Regions from separate parts of the Homo sapiens genome. Here all the other regions are linked to region 1. Evidence: promoter capture Hi-C in 16 types of primary human blood cells and fetal thymus (Javierre and others, 2016). All regions are on one chromosome and are shown on one strand. The core of a region is centred on a gene start or on the middle of the fragment in contact, and the rest is flanking DNA. Distances in the headings are between cores, read along the strand shown. Region 1 holds the start of CCDC59 (coiled-coil domain containing 59). Region 2 has its middle 3.2 kb from the start of C2CD5. Region 3 overlaps TWF1 (twinfilin actin binding protein 1). Region 4 holds the start of TMEM263-DT (TMEM263 divergent transcript).

Region 1 (3,559 bases), core at 497-2,996:
TAACACCTCTCAGAAGTTATTTTTCAAAAATATAGTCATAACATATGGTCCAATCAAGTTACCACCTGTACTTGAGAGGAAGAAACCCAAATTCCAGAGCTCTTAATTCCCATTACGTTACTTTGTCAATTAGGCTAAACCAGCCTAATTCAGTTATTGAAGCTAAAAATAGAGCCTCCATGAAAATGTTTCCCTAATTAAACCGTGACTTCTAAAATGTGTTAAATAAGAAAAAATACAATTCCTATATAAATTATCCTATAGTACTTTTAAATAATAAAACAACACTTAAAGGATTTCAAATGAAGAAAATACATACTTTACTGTTTTAATACATTGTTCTTCTGGCTGAGGCTGGTCAAAGCTACACTGATCTTCAAATAAAGGCTCGTCAATGCTACACTGTTCTTCAAGCAACGGCTGGTGAACTTGTTCTGACAAAGGATGGTCGACTTTTCTTGCTTGCTTCCTATGTCTTTCCTCTTCAGCTAAATAGAGATGTTTCAGATTATCTGGGTATCGATCTGTGAATTGAGATTCCAGTGACGTTTGAGCCTTCTTTTCCTTCCGTAGCAATTTCTTGTAACTTTGCTGTATTTTCAGTTTTCTTCGAAAAGCAAAGCCTTGTCCTACATTGAGGAATATCATCCAAAATTACTTTCAGAGAAAAGAAGTTGAACGAAGAATGGAGCTGTTAATTACAAATGAAAACTTTTTTTACGTCATCACATTCAGATTCTAGTATTATATTTTGCTTTAAAAAATTATTTCAAGCAACAAATTTAAGCTGATGGATTGCATAGTAAGTTGGCCCTTTGCAAAAAGACCAGGCTAACAGTCATGCGGAAATCCAAGTAAGAATCTCAAAGAAAAACTGACCAGTTCAGACTGTTGCACAACTTGAGTTTACAGCTGTATTCACAAATCAAAACAAATTCCTTAGTTCATCTAAAACACTTAATCTGAGCCTTCAATAAATGCTTAAAAAATAGGAAAGAAAATGCCACATCTAGTATCTTGGACAAACTACATGTTTTCGAAAATGTTTCAACACGAAAGAAAAAGACAGTGTATGGTTGTCTGAAAAGCTAGCAATTATCGGAAGACTGAATTTAACATTTATATATTCCAAGTGGGATCTAAGAGACCTTACAGACAGCAATACAAAATGACAAACACAAATTAAAGCGAAGGCTGGAGGGCCTCGGGTATTTGTAATAAGGAAGAATTCGGAGCAGTGTTTCTGGCCCTGTCCTCCTCTCTATCCTTTACCTTACCACATGCGCAAGAGTTCACAGGGTCATAGACTCTCTCTGCTCAGTTTCTCAGGAAAAATATAGGAAAAAAGTTCTGATGAAATACAGGGTTACGTCAGAAAAGACGTTTAAATAATAGCAACACTGCTCCGTCTTCCTATCTAGAGCTCTGCGAAGCTCACAGCTTTAGCGGGCTCAGGAATGAATTCCCTTGCCCCAAGTAGGACCGGGTCTGGTTCCTAAATCCTTCTTCCAAGCTTCAGCGAATCTTATATCCTAAAACTTAGCAAGCCTGAGGATTTGCAAATGGTTGCCTTCTTACATACCCTCGCGAACGCTCCCCACGAAGGCTTGCGGGTGGTTAGGCCGCCATGTCTTCTGTCTCACATTCTTATTCCTGTACCCGACAGTGGAAACCCCTTCACCACGCGCCTCAATACCACCAGGCCGCCACTTCGCGGACCGCCTCACCGGCGCCATTGCAGCCGACTAACTGCGTCATCAGAAGACCACGACGGACGCCCACAAAATACGTCACCAAGCCGAAGCAATCAATCGCTCAGAAGGAATCCGGCTCGGAGCTCTACTGAGCCTGCCTGTGCTAATTTGGGCCGAGCTGGCGCCTCACGGCCATGTTTGCGCCACCTACAGCCTCGGAGGGTGAGCGTCATGGCGGCTTCTTGCCCTCTCCCGGTGACCCCGGACCTGCCCACGCTGCGTGCCAAGTTGCAGGGACTGCTGCAGTTCCTGAGGGATGCCCTGTCCATTTCCAATGCACATACCGTGGATTTCTACACAGAATCCGTGTGGGAGGAGCTGGTCGACTTGCCACCGGAGACAGTGCTGGCTGCGCTGAGGAAGTCAGCGTCGGAGACGGAGGCCCTGCCCTCAGAGACGCGCCCCCTAGTGGAAGCAGAGTGGGAAGCAGGTGGGTGGTGGGGTAGGCGGGGCGGGAAGGGAGGCGGAGGAGAAGGTCCCGGCAGACGAAGCGAGCCCCCTGGTGGAAGCCAGCAGAACCAGGTGCGTGGCGGCGGAGGCGGGGCGGCCCGCTGGGAAACCGAGGAGGGGTCGGATTAGTTGAGGGGTGGGGTGGGGATGTTCTTTGGAATCAGGATCACTCTTTCTTTGGGTGCTTGTGTATGTCCACAATTTAAAGAAAGCAGGAAACAGGGCAGGGGAGTTCCTTCATCTAGTAATTCCATAATAATTGACGCTAGGGAAACTAGGGGAGCAGTGCTCTCACAGGTTTTATAAATGCCAGCATGTGGTGGAAGATTACTCAACAGTTAATAAAGATAATTTCAAGTGGTGGTAATGAAGTAGAAAATAAAAACAGTGTAATGTGGTAGGGATTGTGTAAGGAGGCTGCCTCAATTTAGGAGGTCAGGAACATGAGAAGGCACTAGCTGCAGAGCCACAGGGAGGGGTTGCAGGCGGTGGGAACCGCAGGCTAGGCTTGGCTCTAGCCAGGTGAGGGGCTGCAGGTGCAGGACGGGAGGCAAGCAGAGGCCAGATGGCACAGGCCTTTCTAGGCCTTGGAAGGATTTTGGATTTTAAGTGTGACGGAAACCCTTGGGATTATTTAGGCAACATAGTGACCTAATTCACATTTGAAAAGATAACTGTGAATTATTTGAAGAATAGACTAGGGCAAAAGCTGAAGCTGAGAGGCCAGTTAGGAGACTACCTCAGTAGTACAACAGATGATTGTATCTTGGACTAGGATGGTATTCGGATAGTCACTATTTCATTTAAAAACTATTTTAAAGTACCTAATATGTGTCTTGAATTTTTGTAGGCTCAAGCTTTTCCTACCCTCAAGAAATGTAGATTCTTCTCAGGCAAGCATATTTTGGAAGTAGAATGATGGACACCAACAGGCTTCTGGGATTTTTACTTTCCTTCTAGACTTCCCAAAGTTACCCTTACTAGTGAACTTTATTCATTGAGCATTCTCTGAATGCAAAGCATCACTAGAGGGACCTCTTATAATAGCACTTGGTAAATACTGTTGTTGTTTTTTTAAGTAATTGTTATTGAAAAGTTAGGCACTTCTTCAGTTTGCTCTCATAATAAATATATGGCACTTATGATATGACAATTTTACTTAAACTCCAAAAGAGCAGAGTCTTTGTCTGACTTGTCAACTGATGTATTCCCAGCACTTGGTAAAATACTTGGCATACATTAGATACTGGATGAATATTTGTTGAATGGAGGAATTAATGAGTTACTCATGTTAGTTTTAAATAAATAAAATGAAACTACTCTCAAGTTTAGAGTGTAAGACTTTAATACGTGTT
Region 2 (3,559 bases), core at 635-3,134, about 60 Mb before region 1:
ATATCAAAATCAGCATTGACAGTATACCCAGTATCAACAAAATCAGAGTTCATGCCGGCTCAAAGATTGTAACATTTCATTCCTAAGTGAAGATATCCGTATGATCTTTTTAACTTCGAAAATACTCAATAGAGTAAATACTCCAAACAGTAGTGATCCCGAATTATCTTTTCATGACAAAAATTCCTTCTATGGCAGGAATATTGTTCACATAAGTGAGAAATTGAACTCCTACAGAGAAAACGACTTCCTCAAAATAAAAATCTAAAAAAATCGCTTGCTTTTTGGACTAGAGAAACTTTTATCAATTCAAACTATGTCAAAGGAATAGGGGTCATAGATCCCATGCGAATTTCCTTAGGTCCACCTGCAGCTTTTTCTGGAGTCTGACTCTGCCCTTAAAATACCCTTGCCAGAATTCTGAAGGTTGGCTACACTATGTGATCAACGTTTTTTATTTATTTATTTATTTAGAGACAGGGACTCACTCTGTGTCCCACACTGGAGTGCAGTGACATGATCATAGCTCACTACAGCCTCAATCTTCTGGGCCAAGCGATCCTCCCACCTCAGCCCCCCAAGTTCCTGGGACTACAAGCACATACCACCATGCACCGCTAGTTTTTTAAATTTTTTGAAGAGATGGAGTCTCCCTGTATTGCCCAGGCTGGTCTCAATCCTGGTTTAAGCCATCCTCCTGCCTTGACCTCACAAAGTGGTGGGATTACAGGCATGAGCCATCTTGCCCGGCATGATCAGTGTTTTTTGTTGTTTTGGGTGGTAGAGTTGAAGTCGTTTTTGTGGTGAAATCGAAGTATTACCGTATTACCAACTCATTTTTTAAAATATGAAATGTATAAAGAAAAAATATTAGAAAATTGAAGTTTAGCACCAATATTAATGGAAAATAATGCATTGTGTTCCAAAATGTAAAAAGTTGCAAATTGCACAATTAGAGGTTAGCAATCTCAGCCTCCTAATTAGTAGACTTTGAGGTACTTGTACGTACTTGTTGCCTTAGGCTTCATCAACAAGAGATTATAATTAAGATGCTTCCTGAAAACTATTTTTAGTAGATTTAAGCCTGACTTCAGTTGAACTGTTTCCTAATAATTGTTCTCGTTTGTTTTCATTAATGCTGGGAACAGTGCTAACTTTCTGACAAATCTACCATGATGTGACTCCTGATTACCTTGTTTAGCTTCATACCCTGACACTCTTTTTGCATTTTAAATTATCAATAACAAGAATTAACGTGTATTGATGGTTTGCCGCACACCAGCTACTGAATTCAGCGTTTCACAGCTGTTAAGGCTCCCTAAAATCCTGAGGTAGGAATTATCAGCCTTCATTTTATAAATGAGAAAATTATGGCTTTTCAAAGCTCTGGTGATTACCCAAGGTCACAAAGCTTCTAATGATAGAGGCAGGTTTTAAATCTAGACAATGTGATTCCAAGAACTCACGTCTTTGAAGATTACATGTAGTTTTCTAATAAACTATACTTTTCCTTCTTCCTGGAGTATCTCTCTCATAGTCATCCTACCAAATAGCTATGAATTCATAACTCAGTTCAAAAGTCAATACTCTGGTTTCTCTTTAGAGTGTATAAATCTTTTGCCTTTTACAAAAGTCACTTCTACATCTTCTCTAATCTCCTTCCTAATAAATATGCTCTTCACTCCCACCTATGCTACTACTAAATCTAATACATTTGTTATTATACTTTCCATGCAATAATTATTTATCCATCTCTCTCCCCCCCAACCCCCACTAAACCATGAGCACTCTGAGGGAATGGATTGCTTCTCACTCATCTCTCAATTCTCAGTTCTTTGTCCTGTGCCCTTCATGTGATCAACAAATTATTGTGGAATTAAATTAACAGTTAACACTTGCTATTACTACTTAGATTGCTCTTCTTTCCTGGCTTCCTAAAATGTTCCTGTTAATCTTTCCCATTCTTTCAGGTTAAATTACTCAAGGGTTGTCAGTACTTGGTGCCCTCTCCTCACTTCCTAAGCGCTCCAAAAACTATTAATATCTGGGTTTAGCCACCACCACTCTACAAAAACAGCTTTCACTAATGCCATCAATAACCTCTGGTTGCTAAATGCAATGAACACTTTTTTTAGTTTTAAGTTTTTATTTTTGAGATGGGGTCTTGCTGTGTTGCCCAGACTGGTCTCAAACCCTTGGGTTCATGCAGTCCTTCTGCCTCAGGCTCCCAAGTTGCTGAGACTACAGGCACGTGCCACCATGCCTGGCTTCAGTTTTTTATTTACGTGACTCTCAGTAGCATTTGATGCTGTTGACCACGCTGTCCTTAAAATAATCTTCCTCTTGGTATTCAGAAACCAAGCTTCTCTTACCTATTCTGGTTTATACATCTGTCTTCTCAGCCTACTCATTGTCCTTAACTATTAAATATGTGTTTTTCTCAGGTTCAGTTTTTGTCTCTATTCTCTTCCAACTGTACTGTCTCCCTAGGTGATCTCATCCAAGCTCACAATTTTAATTTCCATCTGTTTAGTCAGGGACTCTCAAATCGTTATCTTTAGTCTGTAACTCGCTTCTGGGATCTTGACCCATATATGCAACTGCCAAGTTACTATTTCCATTTGGAGTATCAAAGTGACCTCAAAAGTCAAGATGTCCAAAAGTGACCTCAAAAGTCAAGATGTCCAAAACTGACCTGATTTTCTTTACCTTTCCCATAACTACAACAACGAGAATGACAACAACAACAACAAAAGACCTGGTAGTCTTCTACTAAACAGCAATGCCAACTACATAGTCAATTGCTCAAGCCAGAAACTCACTGATTTAAGTTTGAAAGTGGGCTGGGATTACAAGTATAATTATACAAATGACAACTTGGGCTCAGTTCAGTTACTTTTGCTTTGATTTTTTTTTTTCCTTTGGGCCAGGGTCCCACTCTGTTACCCAGGCTACAGTGCGGTGGCAAGATCACAGTTCACCACAGCCTCAACCTCCCAGGCTCAGGTGATCCTCCAACCTTAGCCTCCTGAATAGCTGGGACTGCAGGCGCACACCACCACATCTGGCTAATTTTTATATTTTAGTAGAGATGAGGTCTCCCCATGTTGCCCAGGCTGATCTCGAACTCTTGGGCTCAAGTGATCTGCCTGCCTCATCCTCCCAAAGTGCTAGGATTGCAGGTGTGAGCCACCATGTGGCTCACTTTTGCTTTGATTAAGGAGTAAAAATGAGATAAGTAGGCATCTAGGTAAACTCATCATCTTATTAGTTCCCTTGTATCTTAATGTACCATGGGCATAAGGTACCATACCATACTTAATGTACCATGGGCATAAGGACTGCATCAAGTAAAATATTCTCTAAATTGGAAGATTATTGCAGTGGAACACATTGCTTTTTTTGGGAGTTTTGCTCTTGTTGCCCAGGCTGGAGTGCAATGGTGTGATCTCTGCTCACTGCCGCCTCCGCCTCCCAGGTTCAAGTGATTGTCCTGACTCAGCCTCTCGAGTAGCTGGGATTACAGGCACCTGCCACCACACCCAGCTTATTTTTGTAT
Region 3 (3,559 bases), core at 591-3,090, about 39 Mb before region 1:
TCAGAGTTGCTCTTGTTGCTGCATACAACATTTTTTGACGAACCTATTCAGTTGTGAAAGTTTACTTAGTTTATAGATGAAAACATAACATTACAAAAGCAAGCACATTCTGAATATATTAATATCCTGAATCACATTAAAAACAAAACTGAGCTGAAGTCCACCCACTATAATATGCTAAAATACGTGTGTACAAATAACCGTCATTAACATGGGCATCTAAACTATCAATGGTTAGTAAGATGGACTTCAATTTACAATGTCACTTTTTTTGTTTTTTGAGACGCAGATTTGCTCTTGTTGCCCAGGCTGGAGTGGAATGGCATGATCTCAGCTCACTGCAACCTCTGCCTCCCAGGTTCAAGTGGTTCTCCTGCCTCAGCCTCCCGAGTAGCTGGGATTATAGGTGTGCGCCACCACACTTGGCTAATTTTTTCTATTTTTAGTACAGACGGGCTTTCACCATGTTGGTCAAGCTGGTCTCAAACTCCTGACCTCTGGTGATCCACTCGCCTCGGCTTCCCAAAGTTTAGGGATTACAGGCATGAGCCACCGTGCCTGGCCACATTTTAAAGCTGAAAAAAATATAAATTGTTTAAATTCTTCATTTTTCAAACTCATAAGTTCAAGAATAAAAAATTAAAATATGAGGAAAACTGAAATGAAGTAACTTTGATAGTGACATTCTTCTCAAAGCTGTATCAAAGATTACGAATTAAGTTGTTAAGAATCAAAATTCACGGCTTACCGATGGCACATACCATTCTAGGAGGGACACAAAGATGGAAAAAAAAATTCAAGAGTCAACTAGTATCTATGGAAAGCTACTAAAGATAACTACCAATTAACAAATAATTTCATAATCCTGCATGGTCAAACCCAGTATTTCTTTCAGATAGAACATGGGGAATTAAAGAGGAATGGGATGATCTTTTGAGAAAATATCTAGATAACTTTAAAAATAATTATTTTTTAATAAGAAAAATTCAAATTAATTTTTTAAATATTGGGCCATATTCATATATTAATTCTGTCTATTGTTCTATACAGTCAATCTACTACCAGCTTTCCTAAAATACTTGTTTGTATGCAGGCCCATCACTTGAATGGTAGCGATTAATAAATGTATGATAATACTAACAAAATTTAATATTATGTTCAATTAGTTCTCAGATTTATTACAATTATTACTCTCAGGGCCAGGCAGTTTCCTTCATTTTTCAGAGGCCCATGGAGTCATTTTAAAATTACCACAAATTAGGTTGGACACAGTGGCTCATACCTGTAATCCCAGCACTTTGGGAGGCCGAGGTGGGTGGATCACTTAAGGCCACGAGTTTGAGACCAGCCTGGGCAACACAGTGAAACCCCGTCTCTACTAAAAATATAAAAATTAGCTGGGCGTGGTGGCACATGCCTGTAATCCCAGCTACTCAAGAGGCTGAGGTGGGAAAATCACTTGAGCCTGGGAGGCAGAGGTTGCAGTGAGCCGAAACTGCACCACAGCAAGCTGGTCTGGGTGACAGAGTGAGATTCTGCCTTAAAAAAGAAAGAAAAAATTGCCATTGCCACAAATTTTTAAATCTTAAATCAGTAATAATTATTTTGATTTCAAGGGCAAAACTCCCGAATCTAAGCACATTATTCCTGATTCTCCGTTATCAATCCAAGGATTTTCCTCATGATCATTCCCTTCTATGGGAAATAATTATTGTTTTTTAACCTTTATTTGACCTAGAAATTTCAAAAACATTTTTCTAGCATTTAATGTTAAACAAACTATAAAAAAGTTACTTACATGAGAATGATCTGGAGACCATGCAATGAATATCCATTCATATCCCTGGGCATTCTGAGAATCTAACCTGAATAATATATAGCATGGTTGTTTGTCCTCCAACAGGGGTAAAACAAAGGAATCATAATCCTTATCCCAGGAATCTGAAGGCTGACTATATGATCCAATCACAAGTTGCTCTATGAAAAATTATTTTTAGAAAGATAGGTAAATGGTTTGAGATATCAAGTGGTAGTGTGATGAAGACTAGAAAAATAAATATATAGTCATTTCCCAGTTACTATTATTCACATCAAAAAGTTGAAAAGAAAAATGTGGTAACATAGAAAGTAATTATGACATAGAGTATTATAAAAACTGTTAACTTTTTATGAACATGGTTAAAATGTTTAAAATATACACAGCCTAAGAAAGAAACATATAAAAATGATCATAACAGTTGAACTGAATGGTCAAATAATGTAATGACCTATAACAGTCATTACATTTCTATTTTCCAAAATGTCTGAGCTTAAGTTATCAACAAAATATATTTAAACTACCATTCAAAAGTATAATTTCTGACATTAACAATGAATTGTACAGTAAGAAATATTAAATAAAACCATGTTTAACTCCTTTTTATTTGGCCATAATGCTACAGATTTAAACATTTGCCTAGATGTATACACTGGTATAGCCACTTTGAAATGGTATTCAGCAGAATCAAGTAAAACTGTTAATCTACTATGCATACAGAATCTCTTATACATAAATACAAAGGTGTTCACTGCAGCACTATACAGTAACAGTGAAGTTATAGCCTCAATGTTCATCAATAAGACAATGCAAAAATAATGTGTGGCATAGTCATATAACATTCTGTTCAGATTTAAAATGAATTATTGAGCTATCAAAACTAATTGCAAATGGAACATTTTCAGAAAAAGGAAAGATACAGAGTAAGATGGTATCATGCAGTTTATGTAAACTCAAAGAGCACTATATGCTATTTAGGGATACATGTAAAAACAGACTGCACAAGTATCAGAACTCCCAATTGTAGTTGCCCCAGGGTAAGGAGGTCAGAAGCAAAATTGTTTAAAGGGGATGCTCTTATACCAGAAAAACACTGAATTTTCTAAAATGCTTGAAGTAAATAAGATAAAATGTTAGCAGTTATTAATAAAGGGGAGATATAGGTATTTATGATACAATTTTAGTCTTTGGAATTTTCCTTATTTAAAAATTTTCACAAAACAAAAAAGTAAAACCAGAAAATAATAACTTAGGAAGTAGTGCCATTTTCCTTCCGTAGAGATGCTAGTTAGATTAACTTTTCCATTTTAGTTCCTTAACTAGTCACTTAGGAAGTGATGGCATTAAAAATTTTAGCTCAGTATTTTTAAAATATGCTGTTTTACAATATACATATATTCCTATTGAATGTTGTATGTAAACAAATGCATATTTTACAAACTATTCTGGTATTTTTTATATAAGCAGAAAATAGAAAACAAATTAGATTTACTTCCAGTTTGTGAAAGAACAAGTTACTTTTCCAAAGCAAAATATTTTCAGATATTTAAGAAATTAGGCCACTGGAATATTTTAATATATTCATTTATGACTGAGTACCTATAACAATAATTGTTCAAATTCAAATCTGCCTGATTTAAAAGATTCTCCCACTCAACCAGATTCCCTGTTTACAGAATTATTTTTAAAGAATCAATTTGTAGTTTGTTATATTCTCAGAACTTTCCCAAAACAAGAAAGGGA
Region 4 (3,559 bases), core at 416-2,915, about 25 Mb after region 1:
AACAATCTAAGAAAGGGAGGTCACAGAATGGGAATCAAGAACTTAGAGGAGTTCAGACTATAAAACGAAGAAATACTACAAGTCATGTATTTGTTTGTTTTATAGGCTGAACTCCTACACCAGAAGTTTCTGATGAACTCATGACCTCCCAAAGGAGCTCTTTTAAATCTTAGTTAGTTTATGAAACAGATTCAACTGCTGCTTTGAGTTATGGCTTTTAATAACCGTAAAAATGCAAAATCTCCCAGGAGTGGCTACAATCTTGTCAGTCATTTGTACTTTAATAATAATTAGATTCTCTTGTAAAACGACGTGCAAAGGGAAGAAGAAACAAGACGTAATTGTGCACTTCATAATTTTACCTAGAGTTCAACCTTGAAAGGTCACATATTAAGGATAGAAGTTTGTGTAATAACGAGAAAACAGAGGATATCCGTTTCTTCACATACTGGATAAACAACAATCCACGGATCCTGCTAATCATCCAACCCATATGTTGAATTGACAAGAGTATTTAATTTCCTCTTTCTGCTTTGAGAAACTAAATATCTTGACAGTCTGAGCACAGTGGCTTAAGTGGCCTTAATTCTCTGATTTCATAAGTTAATGATTAGGTTGAAGCTATAAACTATAGTCCATTCCATTTAAGACCTGGATCAAAGTTAGCTTCATCCAGCATGTTTTAGCACGTCCTTTCTGAGCTATGTTGTCAGTAGTTACCATTCAGTTCCACCATCCTGAATATTCTGCAGTTGATAAACCATTTTGTGAATTTTTTTTTTTTGCTTTCTGTGTATGTTTTTGACTCGCGTGTTTTTGCTTCGCTAATCAGATTGCGAAAGGAAACATCTCACGTTTGCATAGGACTTCACAGTTCATAAAGACCTTTCCCACCCACCACAAAAAAAGTATGACAAGTTTCCCGTCATCTTCATTTTATAGGTGTGGAAAGGGAGTCAAAGAAAAGTTAATCGATACCATTTATCTAGTTAAGCAGGCTTTGAGCAGTTCATCTCCTCCCGTCCTCAAAACGACCTTCTGAGGTGTCTCCTGCAACCCTGCTCTGAAGCTCAGAGCGAGACGGCCTCACATCCCAGGGGGCTCAGCTCTGGCGGGGCCGCCACGCGCCTCCCCGTGCCTTTGGACGGGTGAGGAGAGCTGCTGCCCCGGCGGGGACCACGTGGAGGGGCCTGGTCAGCAAGTGGCAAGGACGCGGCGCAAAGCCAGGCTTTCTAATGTACAATCCGCGGCTCTTTCGATACTGAACACCCACCTCTTCAACAAATTCGAGCGCCTGGCAGGCCCTGCACCAAGCCTAGGGTGATGGCGACCCAGGCGGGTTTTTACTCTCAAGGAGCTCAATTCTAGGGCAGGGAGAAGTAAAATTAAAAAAAAAAAAATCATAACAAACTGAAAAACACATAAATAAGCCACGTCTCTCCTCACCCCTAGCACTTAATCACAAAGGCCTGTAGAGAGTCCCGACGAGAACTTCTGAGCAGGCCCCGCTGTCAGTCCCTGAGGACAGCATGCAAGGGAGGTTGACGTCCCTGGACGAAGAAAGTGCTGGAGAAACTGGCGACCGTCCCACCTTCCCTAAGGCGAAGGCTCTGAATTCCGAAGACCGTTACTCGGCGCGGAACGCGGGCACCGCCGACGTCAAAACACCGGGCCTGGGGGCCGCGGCCTACGCGTCTCCCGGGCTTCGCGCCCCTCGCCCGATTTGATTGGATGGTGGCGGGAAGAAGGCGGGGAGACCCCCGGAGGAGGGGCGCGCAGGCCGGCCGGGGGTTCCCACGGAGGCGTCCAGGGGGCGAAGGGGCGGGAGCGGGCCTCGGAGCGTCGCGCGTGCGCAATTGGGACACAGCCGGCTGGGGACTGCTGGGAGGGCCGGACCCTGCGAGAACGGGTGGGCGTGTGCCCGGTGGGCGCGGGAGGGGCCCGGGCTGCACGAGCGCGCGTGCGCGTCGGAACTGGAGCCGCGGGAGGAGGCGGGAGCTGAGGAGGCGGCGGAGGGGGCGGGTCGCGTCGGGCGCCACGTCCGCAGCCAGAGGCCTCCGCCTCCACCACCGCCGCCACAGTCTTCCAGCTCCACATCCTGAGAGGACGCCTCTGGAGCCGCGACTGCCCGGGGTTGTGCCGGCCGCCGCTGCCGCCCAGGCCGCCTCAGCTCTCCTCTGCGCCGGCCCGCTCACTCCGCCCGGCCCCAGCCCTAGCGCTGGCCGCGACCCCGGCGGTGAGTGAGTCGGGATGCGAGGGCAGGGGCGCAGTCCCGGCTTCCTGCCCTCCTCCGTCGCCCTCTGCCGTCGGCGCCCCTGCCCCTCACCTCCCAGTGCCCGGCCTGGCTGCCCAGCGGGGCCTTGGCGAGGCCCCAGCGGGAAAGGGGGAGGGGCGGGACGAAGTTGGGGGCGGATGGAGGTTCGCTTCTGGGGCTACTCCTCCTTATACGTCGCTGACTGCCCCGCCGCGATTGGAGCTTGCGCACCCCTGGAAAGCCTCCGCCTGACTTCTTAGCATCTGGGGGTTCGGGGTTGGGGGCGGAGGAGGAAGGTGAGGGGCATCAGCAGCCTGGGAGAGGGATGCAGCGGAGGGGCTTGGGTACCGGGCTTCCTCGCCCTGCCAACTCCTGACCTGTTGCTAAACCTCCCTTTTGGGTTCAGGCACACAAGACTTTTTCCCAGTGGACACCCCCATAGCTCTTCCTGGGTAGGAAGGCTGTATCTCCACGCCTAACCTAAAGTAAAAGTGGGAATGGAGAGGGTGCTGGCCGCGCCCAGGGGTGACAGGGAGGGCTGGAGCACCCATCCGTGCCGTCACTGCCTCCCAGTCTAAATAAAAACTGCCTGCTCTGCACACGCAGCTTCAAGACCGACCCCCCAGCTCCCACTTCCAATCAGATCGCCTGTCCTAAACCCTTCTTACATAGAAATTCTGGAGCCCTTCGGGAGTGGGGGGAGTGCTGGGTGTACAACGTGGAGCGGAGGGAGGAGGTGCCAAGCTCAGTGCTAGCCACGGCGCCTCCAGGGTCATTTTCTGCCTCCTGCCACGTCACTCACTGCTAAAGAAAAAAAAAAGATTTGCTAGTGCCTAAAGGGATCAGTAGGGAGAGAAGGGGCCACCCGGAAGGGTTTAGAAACACCTAGAGAAAAGGGAAGGGTTCTTAATTTGATTTTTGCGTCCTTGTGAACACTGTGCTAATTCCAAATGAAAATATTTGCTATATGTGATTATTTGCTGTATGCTATTGTTTAGCCTTTGAAACTTCTGCTGGTGTGAGTGCCCTCAGGGGTTCCCCAGGAATATCGATACAACACCAACAGGTAAACGCGCGCGCCCGTGTGTGTGTGTGTGTGTGTGTGTGTGTGTGTGTGTGTGTGTGTGTATGTGTGTGCGCGCTCGCGCCCATGCTTAACTTTTTAAAAAGAAAGGGAGAAGTAGCCTTTGATAAACCCATATGCATCCTGTTTTGCTTTTTCCACTTTCATTTCTTTAGTCTTTGTTAGAACAGATGTACCAGAAACCAAGTTCAGTAAAAATTTGTCCATTTATAGAAAGCATC

The links. Contacts are between HindIII fragments. The CHiCAGO score rates a contact against its expected background, and 5 or more counts as called.
Region 2: a fragment that was not itself captured here is called in contact with the fragment with the promoter of CCDC59 in region 1 in 1 of 17 cell types (non-activated CD4 T cells); the score reaches 8.2 in non-activated CD4 T cells.
Region 3: a fragment that was not itself captured here is called in contact with the fragment with the promoter of CCDC59 in region 1 in 1 of 17 cell types (naive B cells); the score reaches 5.5 in naive B cells.
Region 4: the fragment with the promoter of TMEM263-DT here is called in contact with the fragment with the promoter of CCDC59 in region 1 in 1 of 17 cell types (non-activated CD4 T cells); the score reaches 7.0 in non-activated CD4 T cells.

The regions. Positions count from the first base shown.
Region 1 is chr12:82,356,641-82,360,199 of GRCh38, forward strand. It overlaps CCDC59 (coiled-coil domain containing 59), which reads right to left and starts at 1,747. Exons shown (of 4, transcript NM_014167.5): 1 at 1,583-1,747; 2 at 320-629. The coding sequence starts at 1,736. METTL25 (methyltransferase like 25) reads left to right here and starts at 1,889. Exons shown (of 12, transcript NM_032230.3): 1 at 1,889-2,184. The coding sequence starts at 1,926. RefSeq lists enhancers at 1,556-2,116, 1,627-2,186, 2,117-2,677. The HindIII fragment of the contact is 1,548 bases long and covers 1,512-3,059 here.
Region 2 is chr12:22,545,972-22,549,530 of GRCh38, forward strand. No RefSeq gene overlaps it. Among named protein-coding and RNA genes, the nearest start is that of C2CD5, 3.2 kb to the left of the region's middle. The HindIII fragment of the contact is 951 bases long and covers 1,410-2,360 here.
Region 3 is chr12:43,800,488-43,804,046 of GRCh38, forward strand. It overlaps TWF1 (twinfilin actin binding protein 1), which reads right to left. Exons shown (of 9, transcript NM_002822.5): 3 at 1,799-1,977; 4 at 1-43. It also overlaps a transcript of TMEM117 not described here. Among named protein-coding and RNA genes, the nearest start is that of TWF1, 4.0 kb to the right of the region's middle. The HindIII fragment of the contact is 5,233 bases long and covers 1-3,559 here.
Region 4 is chr12:106,953,830-106,957,388 of GRCh38, forward strand. TMEM263-DT (TMEM263 divergent transcript) reads right to left here and starts at 1,666. Exons shown (of 1, transcript NR_185933.1): 1 at 1-1,666. TMEM263 (transmembrane protein 263) reads left to right here and starts at 2,078. Exons shown (of 4, transcript NM_152261.4): 1 at 2,078-2,236; 2 at 3,253-3,320. RefSeq lists a silencer at 1,706-2,465 and enhancers at 1,742-2,036, 2,966-3,025. The HindIII fragment of the contact is 6,686 bases long and covers 1-3,559 here.